Regions from separate parts of the Homo sapiens genome. Here region 1 is linked to region 2. The links are contacts of gene promoters, found by promoter capture Hi-C in human tissues and cell types (Jung and others, 2019). All regions are on one chromosome and are shown on one strand. The core of a region is centred on a gene start or on the middle of the fragment in contact, and the rest is flanking DNA. Distances in the headings are between cores, read along the strand shown.

Region 1 (3,262 bases), core at 552-3,051, 550 kb after region 2:
TAGTGAGCTGAGATCGCTCCACTGCACTCCAGCCTGGGCGACAGAGCAAGACACTGTCTCAAAAAAAAAAAAAAAAAAAAAAAAGAAACCGCAGAAAGGCCATGCCATAGAACTAGGGCAAAATTAACCCCAGAATAAAGGCTACTCCAAAGCCACCTAAAACAAGCCTCAGAAGGATCAAACTATACTCAGATAATGCCTTGCAGAGAAAAAACATTCTTGAAAAGAAAACAAACAAACAAACAAATCCAGCGTCAGTAACATAAAACTTACAATGCCCAGCATCCAATAAAAAACTATAAGACATTCAAGAATCATTTGAATAATCAAAAAAGTGACCCATAACCTAGAGAAAAATAATCAAATAGAATAAGACCCAGACATGAGAGTGATGACAGAAATAGCAGATGAGGACCTTAAAATATCTATTATAAATTTGTTCCACATGTTCAGTGAGCTAAAGGAAAATATAAAGATAATGAAGATAGAAATTGGAGCATCTAAGAAACAACTAAATGAAACTTCTGGAGATGATAAAACACAGTATTAATAAAACTTTTGTTGAACAGGATTAATGGTAGATGCTGCAGAAGAAAAGATCAATGACCTTGAGTGCATAGCAATAGAATCTGTCCAAAATGAAAAGACTGAAAAAGTTGAGAAGAGCTGCAGTGACCTGTGGGACAATATCAGTCTAATACACGCATAACTGGAGTCCCAGAAGTAGAAGAAATGGAGGGACAGGAAAAATATATGAAGAAATAATGGCAAAAATTTTACGAAGTTTGACAAAATTAAAACCCAGAAATACAAGAAGCTTAAACTCCAGAGAATCAAAACGTAGCCATACCGAGAAGCACATCATAATTAAATTGTCCAAAAACAGTCATAAAGGGAAAACATAAAAGGGGCAGGAAGACACATTCCATACAGTGTAACACAGGTAAGAATGACTGCAGTCTTCTTGTCTGGAACTATGCAAGCCAGAAGACAAAGCCATGACAACTTTTAAGTCATGAAAGAAAAAAATATAACTGTCAATCAAGAAGTCTATATTCAGCAAATATATTCTTCAAAAATGAAGGTGAAAAAAAAATAGTTTCAGACAAAAGCAGAGAGAATTCATCTCCTGCAGACCTGTGCTATAGGAGATGTTAGAGTTAAGTTCTTATGGCAAAGAGAAATGATACCAGATGGAATCCTAGATCTACAAAAAGGAATGAAGAGTGCTGGAGTCGGCAGGCAGATGTACAATAAATACAAAATACTTTACTTTCAATATCTAAAACAAGATAATTTTTGAGTGCAAAAATAACGTATAGTGCAGTTCACAGCATATGTGGAAGGAAAAAGTCTGATAATAATTCAAAGGATGGGAGGGAAGTGGAAGCTTGATGTCAGCCGCTGCCATGGATACTGAAGTTGTCTACTAGTGATTAAAGGTATGCGGCGTGAAGTTGAAGATGTGTATGGTAAATCCTAGACACTGCTGGCCGGGCACAGTCACTCACGCCTGTAATCCCAGCACTTTGGGAGGGCAAGGTGGGTGGATCACCTGAGGTCATGAGTTTGAGACCAGCCTGGCCAACATGGTGAAACCCTGTCTCTACGTAAACTTTGTCTCTACTAAAAATACAAAAATTAGCAGGGTGTGGTGGCAGGCGCCTGTAATCCCAGCTACTCGGGGGGCTGAGGCAGGAGAATTGCTTGAACCCAGGAGGCAGAGGTTGCGATGAGCCAAGATCGCACCATCGCACTCCAGCCTGGGGGACAAGAGGGAGACTTTGTCTCAAAAAAAAAAAAAAAAAAATCCTAGACGCTGCCATCATATTGAACTCGTACAATAGTAATTAAGGGTACATTGTGTTAAGGTGAAGATGTGTATGGCAAATCCCAGAGCAACCTCTAAACAATAAACCTAAGAAGTATAACCAGTAAGCCCATAGTGGAGACAAAATGGAATCCTAAAAAGTAATCCAAAATTAGGCAGGAAAAAAGAAAAAAGGAACAAAAAGCAGGTGGGAAAAATAGAAAACAAATAGTAATATGGCAGTTTAAATCCAACCACATCAGCCATTATGTGGAAGGTAGTAAATGGTCTAAATACTCCAATAAAAACCAGACTGTCAGACTAGATATCCAGCAAGACCCACCTCTATGTTAAATACTAGAAAGTCACTTGAAATATGCAGATAGGTTAAAAGTGAAAGGATAGAATGCTTTCAGGAAGTGAAGGGTCTTCTTGTTGGATACTTGGTGGTCACCAGCAGGCACTGGTGTAACTAAGCACAGCGGGAAGATGGCAGATACTGTGGATTCGGACTCTCACTGCATAGAATCCGAATTCAGTGGGCTGTCAACACGGCTTCCCAAATCCCAACACAGATTAGTATCTCATATGTGTTCCTGCTACATATTACACCTGGCTTCATGTCCAAGCTCTAATGAAGCTTCTACCCTTGCCCGTCTACATCCCATTCTCCACAGAGCATCCAAAGTAGTGTAATCGAACATGTCACTCTTCTGCTCAGAACCCTTCAGTAGCTCCTCCCCATTTCATGCCGGACAAACACCAGAGTCCTTCTGTGGGTCTCCATGGCCCCGAGGGTTCCCTGTCCCTCACCTCTCACCACTCTCCACTTCTCCCCCAACATGCCAGGGACACTCCTGACTTGGGGCCCTGGTAACTGTCCTCTGGCTCTGGAATGTCCATCCCTCCTCCATGTCTGTTCAGCATCGCCCTCCCCAGGAGGCTGCCCTCTTGCTGCACCAGCCCTGCCCATCCCCAGCAGGCTCTCCTGGTCTCGTCCTGTCATCTCGTCCTTTTTCCCTTTGCACTCACCACCTGCCACACCACACACCACACTCTCACTGCTGTCTGTTGTCTGTCCCCTCATCTGCAATGAACGGGTCCTGAAGGCAGGGCTTTGGTCTGCTCTGTTCTGATGTGTGCTGAGTATCTAGAACAGTGCCCGGCACACAGCAGGTACTCAGTAAGTCATCTGTTGACTAAATGGACAGTGCCCGGCACACAGCAGGTGCTCAGTAAGTCATCTGTTGACTAAATGGACTGTGTGACCGACAGAGTCATAGAGTGTTAGCAAGAAAGGACCTAAGAGATGGGCTGGGCATCTCTCCCTCCACAGCCCATTTTGGAGATGGGGGGCCTAAGGCCACATCATGAGTTAATGGCAGAACTGGGGCCGGCATTCTCATGAGCTGTTTGTTTTTCCAGGGGGCTCTGAGGAAGAGAAGAGAGGAA
Region 2 (3,200 bases), core at 1-2,500:
AAAAAAACCAACACTCCCTATACACACACACACACACTCCTTCTCTTTCTCTCTCTCTTAGGACCCCAAGAAACTAAGACCCGATGATACAAATTCACTGTTTCTCTTTCTCGTCACGGAAAAGCAGCTTGGAGAATCTACTGGTTACTAAATTGAAGACAAAAACAAAAAAGATACGTATACTGTGATGAACACGTCACGTTTCTCTCCTCCAACCTACCAATAACTTCATAAAAGTTAAAGAGCTTCCATCCCTTCACGCTCAGCTGCGGAAAGGCTACGCTTTCGCCCGCCGCTCGCGTCCCCGGCCCGGACCGCGGCCGCCCCGTTCGCCGCCGCGCCTCTCCCCGCCCGGCAGGCTCCGCCGCCCTCCACGGCCGACCTGGCGCAAGGGCCTGTGCAGCCACAACCTCCGGAGCGCTCCGGACGGGACCGGAAAAGCAGAAGCTCCAGCGCAACCGACGGCGGGTTCCGCGGCGCAGTGCGCCGCCGTCCCCCTCCCGCTCCCACCGCCCACCACCCACCAACACCGCCCCGCGCTCCCGCAGCGCCCGCCGCCCCGGCCCAGCCTGGCCCGCACCGGCGTGCCCCGAGGCGAGTCGCGGCAGCCCGACCCGAGCAGGGGAGGCCAATGATAAGGCGAGCACCTCCTGCGGAAAGACCGACCCCCGGCAACTCCTCACCTGCGTCCATCTTCCCAGTCCGGCCGCCGACTGACCCGAGCGGCGTCGCTCCGACGGGCCAGCAACGCGACGCGGCGACGGGACGCCGCGGGGGCCAATAGGTGTGCCGGCGCAGGCGGCGAAGACGATACGGCGCGCGAGCGGAAATACGCGGGAGCCGCCATTTTGGCGTACGGCCGGGCCGACGCGAGCCCCGGGGCGCCCTGCGGGCGGCATGGGGTCGTGTCGTGGGACGACGGCTGGTTCTGCTGTCCGACGGGACACTGTGTGCCATGGGTGGCGCTTCCTCCTCTTAGAGGACCCAGGAGCAGTTGTCGAGGCGGCAGAGGCGAGCTCTGTCCCCGTCCGAGCAGCCATCTTGCGGTACGGACGTGCTCGGCGCGCCCATGTCGCGGTACGGACTTGCCCCGCCGGGGCGACTCCCCCGCCCGTCTGCCCGCCTGCCGACGGACGCTGCGAGGGGCCTGCGGCGCCCCGCTGGTCCGAAGACGCCCGAACCCGCGGCTGGCGAGGACGCGGGCGGGGGCTGGGGCGGGGGCGGGCCCGCTGCGGGCGCCTGCGCCTCCATCTTGCCGTACGGCGCGGACGCCGCGGGCCGGCCCACGTCCCGAGCCGTGTCGCCGCCGCGCTCCCTCCCTCGGGGCGGTCCGCGGGCGGGCGGGCGGCTAGGGCCGGGGCCTGGCTGCGCGGCTGGGCCAAGGCCCGCGATGGTGATCTGCTGTGCGGCCGTGAACTGCTCCAACCGGCAGGGAAAGGGCGAGAAGCGCGCCGTCTCCTTCCACAGGTACGCGGGCCCCGGGCCGCCACGCCCCCGCCCCGACCCGGCCCTGCGGGGAAACTGAGGCCCCGCGGCCGGCCCGAACGCGGGGGGCGGGGGCGCCGGGCCTCGGCGGCCGGGGCGCGGGGGAGCGGGCGTGGGCGCTGTGTGACCTTGGCCCGGCCGCCGTCTCTGGGCCGGGCGCCTCGGGCAGCGCAGCCGCCCCCACCCCGGCCGCCTGGGTCCGCCCTGCGCGCGATCGATCCGGCCGGCGCCTAGGCTTCAGAAGCCGCACGCTCTGGAAGCGCAGGTCCTGGGCCGATTGTCCTGCTCGGCCGCGACTGCTGACTCTCCGGACCGCGCGGGCCGTCGGCCTGGATGTCTGCGAGCAGGAGCGACCGGGCAGACGCGACCTGCGCCTCCGTAGCTGACAGCCCCCGAGAGGGCTTTCCGGGACTGGGCCCCCGAGCCCAGGACGCGGGTACGCGCGGAGAGTCTACGGGACGGCCGGCTGGGGACGGCATCCTCCTGCGCTCCCTTAGAGCCTGGCCCGGGGCTCTCGGCCGCTTCCCACGTGGGCCCCCGCGGCAGGGCCCAAACCCCTCTAAGGCCTTGTGAGTTCAGCCTATTTCAGTGAGATTTCTGCGGATTACACGCGGGAGGCACCAGAACCGCGAACAGACTTTAAAAACCACTTTGGAGATGTTTCTGTTTTATGTTGCATGGTGTTATTTAAGTTTTAAAGACGGGAATGGCACGTGTTATTTATAGGGTTATTGAAAGTTCACAGTAGTTTGCTGTAAGTCTTAAATCATTACAATGTATTATAAGAATTAGTAACATTAGATTATTTCACAAGTCAGCCAGCGCACTTTCTTGACAATTTCCTTCAGAGCTTGTGTCCTAGAAGTTTTGTTATTGTTTTTTGAAAACGAGGCAACGTGTTGCAACGGTCTAACATGGTATGGGAGGAAAGGACATCGGAATTGGGGGTGGGGGGGTACCTTTGCAGTTGGCCTCACAGTGTTCAGAAAGGAGGTTAGAAGGTCCTGTTGCTTAGAACGGCCCAGTCCATCCTGTTAGGATTTGTCCTGGTCCACACTGGCCTCAGGTGGAGCAAATAGCAGTTAGAACTGACCACCCTGTCCCTTATGTGCACATTAGGGCCTGGTTTTTTTTTCTTTTTTTCTCTTTTTTTTGAGAAGGAGTCTCCCTCTGTCGCCCAGGCTGGAGTGCATTGGTGCGATCTCGGCTCACTGCAACCCCCGCTCCTGGGTTCAAGCTATTCTCCTGCTTCAGCCTCCCAAGTAGCTGGGATTACAGGCAAGCGCCACCACGCCTGTCTAATTTTTTTGTATTTTTAGTAGAGACAGGGTTTCACCATATTGGCCAGGCTGGTCTCGAACTCTGGCCTCAAAGTCCTGACCTCAAGTGATCCACCCGCCTCGGCCTCCCAAAGTGCTGGGATTACAGGCATAAGCCACCCCGCCCGGCCCAGGCCTATGTTCTTAAACACAGAGTTTGCCTTAATGAAGAAATGGTTATGAAGGATCTTTATTAGGTAATAAAGAAATGACTAAACATCCTATTCAGTATCTTCCTGCGCTGGTTGCTTTTTTCTCACCATTTTTAAATTATGGTATAATACATGTAACATGAAATTTACCATCCTAACTTTTTTTGGAGACAGAGTCCCACTCTGTCACCCAGGCTGGAGTGCAATGGTATGACCGTAGCTCACTGCAGCCTCAGCCTCCTGG

What was found. Contacts are between HindIII fragments. The study calls those that stand out against the background at their distance.
Region 1: a contact is called between a fragment that was not itself captured here and the fragment with the promoter of THAP4 in region 2, in 1 of the 25 tissues and cell types used here (dorsolateral prefrontal cortex).

Annotation. Positions count from the first base shown.
Region 1 is chr2:241,082,683-241,085,944 of GRCh38, reverse strand. The region is part of intron 29 of SNED1 (sushi, nidogen and EGF like domains 1); the gene reads right to left. It also overlaps a transcript of MTERF4 not described here. Among named protein-coding and RNA genes, the nearest start is that of MTERF4, 18 kb to the left of the region's middle. The HindIII fragment of the contact is 4,214 bases long and covers 1-3,262 here.
Region 2 is chr2:241,635,208-241,638,407 of GRCh38, reverse strand. THAP4 (THAP domain containing 4) reads left to right here and starts at 1,250. Exons shown (of 6, transcript NM_015963.6): 1 at 1,250-1,467. The coding sequence starts at 1,391. ATG4B (autophagy related 4B cysteine peptidase) reads right to left here and starts at 715. Exons shown (of 13, transcript NM_013325.5): 1 at 684-715. The coding sequence starts at 693. RefSeq lists silencers at 258-397, 438-627, 648-697, 1,068-1,417, 1,448-1,517 and 1 more and an enhancer at 167-1,094. The HindIII fragment of the contact is 20,762 bases long and covers 1-3,200 here.